Linked DNA regions of Homo sapiens: region 1 is linked to region 2. The links are contacts of gene promoters, found by promoter capture Hi-C in blood cells and fetal thymus (Javierre and others, 2016). All regions are on one chromosome and are shown on one strand. Each heading gives the region's core, a stretch centred on a gene start or on the middle of the fragment in contact. The rest is flanking DNA. Distances are from core to core; before and after follow the strand shown. Region 1 has its middle 31 kb from the start of LINC01823. Region 2 holds the start of CLASP1-AS1 (CLASP1 antisense RNA 1).

Region 1 (6,116 bases), core at 822-3,321, 290 kb after region 2:
CCCTTTGCAGGTCAGCCCTGGGTTCTGCAGCCAGGAATTCAGCTTCAGGCACCATCCACAGGGATGCCTGGGAGGAGAACACGGTTGTTTTCCACAACATCAACCTCTAAGAGTCAGGGATGCTCCTTAACAACCTGCTGTGGATGGACCAGAAATTTATTTAAGCCCTCCCTGAACCTGTTTATGTTTCATTAAACTCTTTTATTGATCCTCTTAATTTTCCTTTTGCTGATTTACTCTGGGCCTTGACTTCACACCCCTCTCCCTGGAGTTCAGGTTTCAAGGGCTTCCAAAGTGTGTCTGTACCCCAGGCCCCAGCCAAGGGCCAGAGCTGCAGAATGGGCCTTCTGTGCCCTTCTGCCACCTTCAGCAACTTCCTCTTTCTGCTCTTCTAGAACCCACAGGAAGGTCAGGTCTGCCTCTCCCCTGCCTCCATTCAACCTTTGCCTTTTAAATGCTTAACCCCAAACAATGAGTCTTTGGTGGAGAAATTTCAGACTGCTATTATCTAGTGGTAGAGATGTTTTGGGGCGGGAAGACCTTTAAACTCCACTTTGTATGTGGCTCTCTAGTGGCAGAAATAATGTTCATTAAAGCCACAATCCATTGAGAGGGTGGGGAGGTTGGAAGTTTGCAGAATGACTGCTGGACCAGCTTGGGAAATTTACAGATGACCTGTTTCAATCCATTCTCATTTGCTCACGCAAATTGGGTTCCGTTTATACTTGGCATTGGAAAAAAGAAAGAAAGAAAATGAGGGCTTGGTATGTGGCTGTAGCAGACAGAAAGAAAAGGCTTGGTGACCATGTGGTGTTTGCCATTCTGTTCATTAGACCAGGAGAGAGGTTTCCTGGTCCTGCTCCTCTGGCGTGGTTACTTCTCTCTCCTTGGTATATTTCCTTTCCAGCACCATTTAGGAATGGGGTTTCTAATTAGGGGAAAACTTAAAAAAAGTTGATTAAAATATAGTTTTCTTTTTCTATTGATTTATCTAAAATCTTTATGTATTTGTAGTGGAAGGGTTTTGTGTTAGCTTACTTCACCATTTTGCTGAACTAGAAATTCTCTGCTTCTATTTTTCTAAGGAAAGAAGTACATACACTATTCAGTAAGAATATTTTTCATTGTTTATTTTTTAGTTTCAGTACTTTTAGGGGTACAGGTGGTTTTTGGTTACATGGATGAGTTCTTCAGTAGTAAATTCTGAGATCTTGGCGCAACCATCACCCGAGCAAGTGTACACTGTACCCAATATTTAGTCTTCTATCCCTCACCCCCCTCCCAGCCTCCTCCCGCTCAGGCCCCACAGTTCATTATCACTGTGTATTTTTGTATTCTTATAGCTTAGCTCCCACTTATAAGTGAGAACACACACAGTATTTGATTTTCCATTCCTGAATTACTTTGGTAAGAAAATTCTTAATACAAGGCTGATCAACCCATGTTGCCTTTTTTTCTTACTCTCTCAAAGTTACAACCCAAATTGAAAAATACAAGCTCTTCTCCAAAGAGGTGGACTGATCCCTAGACAGGGGCTAAGAGGCCCGTCTTGACTCCCCTCTCGTTTCTGTGTTCCAGTTCACCAGCCGTGTTCCTGCGGGCCTGAGCCGCTCTGGTCTGCTACAGGCCACCCGGCTTGCACCTTCCCTCCCTGAGGCCCTGATTCTTGCTTCCTGACTGTGAACTTCCTCCTGTCATTTACAGCTGGCTGTGCTTCACATTGCACACCTGGTGGGGTGGGGTGAGGGGGTGCTTGAAAATTGCAGACACTGTAGATCAGGAGAGTGACTGTTACAATTTTGGCAGATGGTAGGGAAGTGTCTTGTGGGAACCTTTTTTGTAATTTGCACCAAGTCCCCATTTGGGATAGTGTTGGGGCTGCTCAAATATTTCTTTAAGTGTGCTCTGTATTGATTTCCGTGGAGTTTTGCTTCTTCAGATACGCTCTGTTAATTGCTTCTGTTAGGTAGCGGCAGCAGCAACAAAAACAAACATTAATGAACTCCTAATAACATCTATTATTAATTGCTAACATTTACTAAGTGCTTGCTATGGACCAGACATTGTGCTAGATGCTTTTAAAATACAGTGTTTTGTTGTTGTTGTCATTGTTGTTGTAGAGACGGGGTCTCCCAGTGTTGCTCAGGCTGGTCTTGAACTCCTGCGCTCAAGCGATCCTCCTGCCTCAGCCTCCCAAAGTGCTGAGATTACAGGCGTGAGCCACCACACTTGGCCTTTAACTTACTTCAACCTACAAGGCAGTGCCAGTGTGAAACCCATTCTACCACTGGGTGCCAAGGTGTGACAAGGCGATGTAACTTGCCAGGCACTGCAGAGCAGAAGTGATGGAGCTGGTATGAAGCCTCCAGCTGTTTTACTCCAAACCCATGTTTTCTTTCTGCTGTACTGGGTCCCTGGGTTCAGAGATGAAGCAGCTCTCAGTCATGTAGGACACATTCAAGCCAACTGTTCCCATATAAGGAGCTACTGGCTATGCTGGGGTTCCCCACCGGGCAGTGGGATCCCAGGAGAGGGAGAACTGCAGTAGCTGAGGGTGATCAGAGGATGCTTCACAGAGGAGGGGACTTGTTCCTTTACCTGGGTGTGGCTTCCACTCTTTTTCATCCCCTACAGCCCTGCATCTCTGCCTGAGTCTGCCGCCTCTGTTCCTGGGTGCGCTCAGGGTTCAACATGGCGGACACTGGGGAAGATTATATTTTCCAATGGGCTGGAAGGGTGAACTCCTGACAGGGATGCAAGCTGAAAAACAAGCTCTTTACCAGATAGAAAATGGACACATGGTGATGCTTCTTGAATAATTCCATTCAGCAGCCTCCTGGGATCCGTCGCCCATGGTTTTATAAATGGTCTATCTCACAACCCACTCTCAGATGGGCCACCTCTGCCCCTCAGGCTGGCCCTGGCTGCATCTACAAGTTCTATGAGTCCCCAATTAAGAAAACAATAGCTCTCTTTTCACTGAAGCCCAGAGCTGTCAGAGTCCTTTTCAACACAACAAGAGATTCATCAGCTTCCAATCAAGGAAAATTAATTTATGTTTGTCCCAGTGTCCTGTAGCATTGGATTTCAAATAATTGTAAACAAAATGAAAAAACTCAGGCAGCTCTCTGTTTCTCACTCAGTTCTCACCGTCAGTGGGAAGCTGCTCACATAAGAGAAATAGTTGGCTGTCCTTAAACTTTGGAAAACACCACCAAGGAACCGTGTGGCTTGATGCCACTGGGCTTAGTGTCAGGAGGGTTGAGTCTTGGTGGAGGTAGGAGCATCACCCAGTCAGTGGATGACATCACCACCACTTGGTGACGTATTGAGATGCCCCAGGGGACAGAAGGAGTGGAGCCAGTGACCTCAGCAGGCACCGAGAACACTGTTTTAGGGGCAGCATTGCTAGCCATCCCCCACAAGAGGACATGTGTTGGAAACAGCACTGTGATCAGGGTTCTGGATACCATCCTGCCTCTACCAGCGAAGTCAAGTAGCCCTGGGGGCTTCTGCTTTCCCATCTGTAAAGTGAGAAGATCAGCCTGTAGCTCTGTCCAGGAGATGCCCACAGCCTTGTCCCTATGGCTGTATTAGTGCTGATTCAGCTTTTGCTGTCTAGAAGCCTACAGGCCTTTTTTTTTTTTTTGAGAAAAGACTCACTCATGAAGCAAGAGAACAGTATAAAATGATGGATAATCCACTGTTAGTTTGGGTGAGGGAGATGGAAGATGCAACCGCTTTTCAAAAACATTCAAAAGTATTTTCTTTAATTTCTGAGTGGTAGGGAAATTGGGTATATTTATTTTATCACACATTTTATTATTTATTTTATTTATTTGAAGCAGGGCCTCATTCTATCACCCAGCTGGAGTGCAGTGGTGTGATTATAACTCACCGCAACCCTGGACTCCTGGGCTCAAGTGATCCTCCTGCCTCAGCTCCCTGAGTAGCCAGGACTACAGGTGGGTGCTACCATACCCAGCTAATTTTTATTTTTATTTTTAGTAGAGACAGGGTCTTGCTATGTTGCTCATACTTGTCTTGAACTCTTGGCCTCAAGTGATCCTCCCACTTTGGCCTCCCAAAGTGCTGGAATTATAAGTGTGAGCTATAATCTGTGCCCAACTTTTTATCACACATTTTTGCATTTTCTAAAAGAATTACAATCACATGTAAGGCCTTATGAAATCCTTGTCTACCCTAAAGTCATAAAGGTTTTCTCCTATATTATTTCATAGAAATGTTGTTTTACCATTCACGTGTAGATCTACAATTCATTTGGAATTGCCTTTTTTTGGTATGGTGTGAGGTAGGGGTCAAGGTTTATTTTTGCACTGCAGCACTATTATTGCTGTAAATCAGGTGTCTGTATGTGGAGGTTTCTCCTTTGTCTGATTAGTCTGTTTGTCTATCCTTGCGCCAATACAACACTGTCTTAAATGTCACAACTTTCTTAAGAAGGTCTTGATAATCTGGTAGTGTGAGCCCTCCAACTTTGCTCTTTCTCAAAACTATTTTGATTATTTTTTGACTCTTTTCATTCCATATACACTTTAGAATAAACATCAATTTTCACAAAAACACTTGCTAGGATTTTGACTGAGACTTTATTGAATCTATGAATTCATTTGGAGAGAGTAGATATGTTGATAAGATTAGATCTTCCAATAATATATCCAACTTCAGAGCGTTGGCTTTTACCAATTCCCCTGGGGCATCATTTAGCTGAGAACCAAATTTTATGTGACTTTTTTAGCCTGGGGGTTCCAGACCAAGTTGGGTGGGATAAATTTGAGCCCCAAATCTATATGAAGTCAGATTTGTGTTCATGAATTCCCAGATAACTATTTTATTTATTTACTTTCCACTTCAAGTCTAAGCTAAAATTTCTTTGTCATCCACCTGAGTTGGTGAGAATTTTTTCTTTTCTGGTTTGTACTTTTGTTCTTCATCAGACCCACTCCCTGTAAGCATCAATCCCCAATCCCCCGGGAGTTGCGAGCTCATGCCCCTTCCTGAATCCATCCTCCTGGCCAGGTTTCACAGCAGAAGCTCAAGGATTTTCTTGGCCCCTGGGGAGTTCTATTTCCTTCTTTCAGGGCTCTGTCAAGATTGAAAAGGCTGCTTACTATATTTACCCAGCATTTCATGGTGTTTGTGCTAGAAGATGGTGTTCTCTGATCAAAATTTCAGAAAAGGTGTTGTTCTGAGTAGCCACAATATAAGCACAGAGATGGGTCCCTTTTTCAGTTTGGGATATCTTTCCCTTCTTTGGTTAGCAGAGCGTTGTTCTTGGTTCTGACCAGGAAGCCTTGGGCATTAGGTACTCCTTAGCAGAACAGATGTGACCATGTATGAAGCCACCAAGTGTGAAATAGTCTCCCTGATAGAAGAGACCATGCCATGGGACTTCCTTCCACAGGACGTTTTATTATCAGCTGGCCCACCATCTTCAGTCTATTCTCAGCTTCCGTCTTCCTCCCCTTCTCATTGCCTCACTGTGGGGCATTTTGCTATATTTTCATTACCACCTTTGAGGGATATCAGCCCTCCTGGGGAGCCCTATATTTCTCATGAATAACTTCTGGTAATGAGGGTAGAGAGAGAAGGTTGATTATTTAAAAAAATAGAAAAAAACAGCATAAACTGCTGCATCTGAAGATTGTCCCTCACCTAACCCTACTTCTCACTGAATCCTTCTGGGGCATCCAGGCAGAAATAATTCTATCTATAAGTAACTACAGATAAAATTGTTAGACACTAACATAGCATTTGTGAATTAATTAAACCGGTGTAGGTATCAGGATGTCTGACTCTGTGTCAGGCACTGTGCTAGTGCTGCATAAGACAGACAGGATATACAAAAGAAATTATTCTGAGGCTTGTTAAAATGGCAAGGAATATTTTCTTCAAGGCTATGATAATATGGGAGGGAGATGGAACTCAACTCCAAATACAGCAGGGACAAATGGGGATTTGTAGGCCATGGGCAGGGTGAGGGAGTGGAGGGAAGATCACTAAGACCTTTGATCAAGTCTCAAGGGTGGAGGAGGAGGAGCTCATTTGGCCAAGTTGGGGAGGGTTTCAATAACCTAGCTCAGCAAGATTCTCCG
Region 2 (5,480 bases), core at 422-2,921:
TGTGACTTATTTAAATATCTTGCATGGGGAAACAGATTGAATGCTGTGAAAATTTTTATCTGTAATACATCAGCTTAAGTCTATGGAGTCACACCATTTGTGCAAGTACACACACACACCCTCGCACGTGCATGCACGCGCACTGGCCAGCTGACCTCAAAACACATCTCTTGCCCCTACCTGGGGATTAGCAGCTTGATCCATGATCTTTAGCAGCAGAGTTTGGTCCTGCTCCCTCACAGAGTCTTTAGCATCTCCTAGTCTGTCTATTAGACTTGGCAGCACTGAAAATCAAAATGGAAACTGATCAAATGAAACCCTATTTGGGGGTCTGTGGTCACCAAGTATTCCTATCTCAATTATGTGGGAAGACAAACCCCTGACCTAAATGATGTATCTCATTCTAAAACCACTCATCTTTGCTCACAGCTCTACTCTCCTTGCTGAAGTCCATGAAAGTCACCAAAAGAGTCTGCAAAATCCTTTGCATGGACAGATACACTATTTGTCTTCCTCCTTACCCCACGTTCCTCCAGCCAGTTCCCAACGTATTTGTAAGCTGATAAAAATGGAAGACCTTGAGAGGAAGAGTCAACAGAAAGGAAAATTTAGGTAAAACACAAGGAGAGGGGCTCCAGTATATGTGTTTGGGGGTGGAAGGAGTGGGCACTTATGAATAAATCTTAAGTTTCATCACTATTGTGTATTTTTAGTTTTACATCACGCCCATACACACATGAGACAGAGCCCAGCTCTCCATCTTCCCCGACATACCCAGGGTGGACCCTCCCACCAGTGGTCCAAGTGCACCTGTAGACCAGAGATCAGCTTATTTTAAGAGTTTGTAAACCTCTATTACATGAGATATCCCTGAATAATTCAGCTAATTTAGGAGGAAAATGGAACACTATTAAAATATCAAATGTCTAAAAGTAAAAGCTTTTTTTAAATTTGTAAACAGTCGGTGCTCATGACCTTTTCAGAAGGAGCATATTGGTCGGAAAGTTAACAGTAAAGAATACATGTGTACCAACGTAAAACAGAGAAATTCCATAAGGAAATGGTTGCATAGAGATGCTTAGTGTTTATACTACCCCCATGAAACACCGGAGGTCAGGAATTTAGAGGTATTTAAATCTATGAAATCTGTGGGTTTTGTTTCATTTTGCTGACATACTGTTTTCCCTTCAAAATAAGAGTGAACATTTACTATACATTTGTAATGACATTTACAATCAAGGTGAAAATAGTCATGCCAACCATAATCATCTGGAGAAAAATACAACTGGCTTGGTTTTATAGGATTTCTCAAGGAAAACTGCCTCTCATTAAAGGGGACCGGGGTCAGGGTAAAATATGACTTGGTTGGCACTAAAGAGTGACAGCTAATTTAGCATAAGAAATAAAAATGGCACTAATATTTCATATTAGAACACGTATTACTAAGTTCCGTGTGAGAACACAGTGAAGCCAGTACAAAGGTATGGGGGAGGGTAAGGGCGCCCGCAGGCCCAGAGGCCAGGGGAGTCCAGCTGGAAGGGAAGGCAGCGGGGCGGCCGACCCAGGCTGCGAGTGCTTAGGGGGGCTGCGGGGGAGGGCGGGGACTGGCTGTTTGGGAGGAGCGGAAGGGAGGGAGAGGGGGCTGGAGGGGAGGCAGGGTGGCTGCCGGGAGGGTTTGGGAGCCGGGGAGGCCGAGGGAAGGCTGGGGGTCTGAAGGGGCCGGGTCCGCTCCACAAGTGCCGCAGCTCACCTGTGCCGATCTGCGCCTTGAACCGATCCTGCAGCCGGGTCACCAGGGCGGACAGGATGTCCATGCCCAGCAGAACCACCTGCAGCGGGAAACACCGGGAGCCTGTTAGCAGCCGGCCTGCGGGGCAGCGCTCCCGCCCACCCGCTCCGGGGAGGCCTAGACATTTCCGGCCCAGACGCAGTCCGAGAGTCCAGACGCATGCCGACTGGAGGACCAAAGAGATTAGCACGAAGAAGGATGATCTTCCACAAAAAGAGCTATGTACAGCTATAATGGAAAATACTCGGTGAGGAGAAACGAAATAAAAGGCAATACAGCGTAGCCAAACCCGGGTTAGCTGCGGGTGGAGTTCAAGAGCGCGCCGCGGTCCCGCCCCCGCCAGCCCCGCCCCGGCGAGAAAAGCGTATGCAAATTTTCGAGCGGCCGACGCGCGGTCTTCTGGGTAAAACCGAGCCGCCGCTTTTGCGACCCTTCGGGAGCCTCAGAAAACAAAGAATTGGGGTGTCGTCGAAAGCTGTGGAGGCTGGAGGTAAGCTAGCTACCAGACCGACTAGGGCGAGGCTCACGAATTAATTACCACAACCCTACCAGGTATTGGCGCTTCCTGCTTGCAGCCCAGGGACTTTCTATTATAACCATCCTTTTCTTGGGGTTGCGCTACTGTCCAATGAGCGCATAGTGAGGGCAGTACTGCTAACGCCTGAACAACACACCCGCATCAACTAGAGCTTTTGCTTTATTTTGGTGCAATTTTTGGAAAAATGAAAACCTGTTTTCATAGACTTATCAGTTCAAACAGCAGTAATTCGTAAATAAACTAGTACTTTGTGGTTAAACCAGTAGAGGGTGCACAAGACGCGTGGTTTTAGTGTCGCAAGTAAAGTTCTTTCAGTTTTTGCGGTGATTAAACGGGAAGGATTTCAACAGAACTTCACCCCTTTAACTTTACGCCGATCATCAACTGTTCTGTAACTTCCTTATGCTGAGTCAGCCCAGTAGTCTAGGTCAAGTTTCAATAGGAGACGAAGTTTCAGTAGGTCTTTGCACCTCACATAAAATGTAATCCAGGTCGGGCGCGGTGGCTCACGCCTGCAATCCCAGCACTTTGGGAGGCCGAGGGGGGCGGATCACGAGGTCAGGAGATCGAGACCATCCTGGCTAACACAGTGAAACTCCGTCTCTCCTAAAAATACAAAAAATTAGCCGGGCGAGGTGGCCGGCGCCTGTAGTCCCAGCTGCTCGGGAGGCTGAGGCAGGAGAATGGCGTGAATCCGGGGGGGTGGAGCCTGCAGTGAGCAGAGATCGCGCCACTGCACTCCAGCCTGGGCGACAGCGAGACTCCATCTCAAAAAAAAAAAAAAAATAGTAATCCCAGCACTTGGGGAGGCCGAGGCGGGCGGATCAGGAGCTCAGGAGATAGAGACCATCCTGGCCAACATGGTGAAACCCCGTCTCTACTAAAAATACAAAAATTAGCTGGGCGTGGCGGCGCATGCCTGTAGTCCCAGCTACTTGGGAGGCTGAGGCAGGAGAATCGCTTGAACCTGGGAGGCGGAGGTTGCAATGAGCCAACATCGGGCCACTGCACTCCAGCCTGGCGACAGAGCAAGACTCGGTCTCAAAAAAAAAAAGAAAAAGAAATGTGAAATAGTGAGCTTTTTGTGGAATGGTCCAATAGTCAGATTAAACCCTTCCTCCGTATGAAGCAGTTTTGCACTGTGAGACTTCATTAAACATGCTTCCAACACAAAGCCGGGCACTGCCCAATGTTCACACAACAACCAAACAGGACGGGGCAACAGTTAGGATTTCTTGTATACAGCCTGTGCCTGCCTGCCTCTGGCGGCTGATAAAAGCAAAAACTGCAGACTTTTCTATTCAGCTTTGAAATCTACTGCTTCAAAACTGAAGGAATCTAAATTGGCCCAATAATCCCCACAATACATAAAATGTTCTTGCAAGAAACTGGCTACTTGACAATATTGAAGAAAATAATTTTTAAAACTTTTATAAAGAGAACAATTTGTAAACAGATTTTTTAAATAATATAATAATGGTATAAACACTTTAAAATAATGACTCTACTTTCCAGCTAAAAGGGATTAGGTTTCACACTATGACTTCCTTCCAGAGTACAGTATGAAGTGGAGGAGTAACTATCCTGCGGAGAAAACTGACAGACGCAACCTCAGCCAGATGGTGGAGGTCAACATCAAGTACACGTCATATGATGTCATGAAAACGGCATTTTGCCTGTGACAGTCCTTCCCAAGACCCTTAAGCTCAGTCTAAACATGAGGAAAACATCAGAGAAATTCCAATAGAGGGGCATCCTACAAAACACCTGACCAGTACCCCTCAAAACTGTCCAGGTCATCAAAAACAAGAACTCTGAGAAACTGTCACAGCAACAGGAGCCAAGGGAAACATAACAACTAAAGGTAATGAGGTATCCTGGAAAAGAGTGTGCAACAGAAAGATGACATTTTTCCTTAGGTAGAAACTAAGGAAATATGAATAAAGCATGAACTCTAGTTAATAATAATACATCAATACTGGCTCATTAATTGTAATAAACCACATTAATGTTAGATATAATAATGAGATATTTGTAATTTTTCTGTAAAAAAGTTTATTTTTTAAAAAGAACAGCCCATCACTTAAGTGAGTTATTTAGCTTTTGTCTGGTGAAATCTTAAGCTTATCTGCACAGTTGCATTACTGGTTGCAGGTAGGGGTGTTATTCATGACAGAAACATCCCTTCATACATCGTTCAAGGCTAAGGTAAAGAGGACTATTGTTTATTTGGGGGAAAGCTGACGTCAGCTTTTCCAGGATGGCAGTTTACTTGGTAGGTCTGAGCAGAGAAGGCCTCGCTAAGCCCCGGACAGTCAAGTTTCAATGCGTTGCCTAGAGGAACTGGGGAGCCTGGAAACTCCCGAAGAAGACTGAGTGGGTAGATGCACCTGAGCCCCAGAGAAATAGGACAGGAGAGGTCCAGGGTGTCAGCCAGGAGGACAGAAGGCAGTTCCAGGCACTTTCACAGCTCAGGCCCTTCTCCTGGGTTTCCATTTCCCTACTGAAGAAAGGGATACATGAAAAAGTCCTTGCCCAGAAGACCACTCTGATAATTAACTATAAAAACCTCTTTGTGCCTAACCTCCTCATCTGTAAAACATGGACAATAATAACAGCTGCCTCGTGGGTTGTTGTGAGGGTTAAATAAAGTGTGTATGTAAACTGTGCCTGGCACGTGGTAAGGGTACTTTTTTTTTCCCCCTATTTCTGCTTTCTTCAGCCCTTAGGTTTATAAAACCAACTTCTTCTGCATGGCTCACTGGAATACACAATTCTGTTTTATGGAATGAGGTGTTACCTGATTCTAAAGTCACGAATAAAAGTCAATCAAAATCTTTAAATTTGTTGTAATTTTTTTCTTCCAACACCATTAACTCTGCGTGACCCTTGACTCTGACATTTTACTTAATTATCTACGTTTGTGCTTGTTTCCCCAGCTACACTCCTTGAATGTAAGGAATACTATCATCTTGCATTTCCTCAGAATTCCCATAATAAGTAGCACAATGCTGGGTACACGGTAGGTGATCAATAAACCCTACTGTATTGATGTGAATGAGACTGGAATAGATGAGTTCTCAAGGTCCAACACATCTTCTTTATCCTACAAACCTTTAAAAGACTCTTTTGTAAAAGAGAGAAGAGGGCTGA

The links. The method cuts DNA at HindIII sites, captures the fragments that hold promoters and counts their contacts. A CHiCAGO score of 5 or more calls a contact.
Region 1: a fragment that was not itself captured here is called in contact with the fragment with the promoter of CLASP1-AS1 in region 2 in 1 of 17 cell types (neutrophils); the score reaches 6.0 in neutrophils.

Annotation. Positions count from the first base shown.
Region 1 is chr2:121,818,359-121,824,474 of GRCh38, forward strand. No RefSeq gene overlaps it. Among named protein-coding and RNA genes, the nearest start is that of LINC01823, 31 kb to the left of the region's middle. The HindIII fragment of the contact is 9,150 bases long and covers 1-6,116 here.
Region 2 is chr2:121,528,497-121,533,976 of GRCh38, forward strand. It overlaps CLASP1-AS1 (CLASP1 antisense RNA 1), which reads left to right and starts at 1,672. Exons shown (of 2, transcript XR_001739683.2): 1 at 1,672-2,279; 2 at 3,882-5,170. CLASP1 (cytoplasmic linker associated protein 1) reads right to left here. Exons shown (of 41, transcript NM_001395891.1): 3 at 1,751-1,829; 4 at 181-284. RNU4ATAC (RNA, U4atac small nuclear) reads left to right here and starts at 2,384; the gene lies at 2,384-2,513. RefSeq lists a silencer at 1,542-1,741 and an enhancer at 1,932-2,061. The HindIII fragment of the contact is 3,511 bases long and covers 938-4,448 here.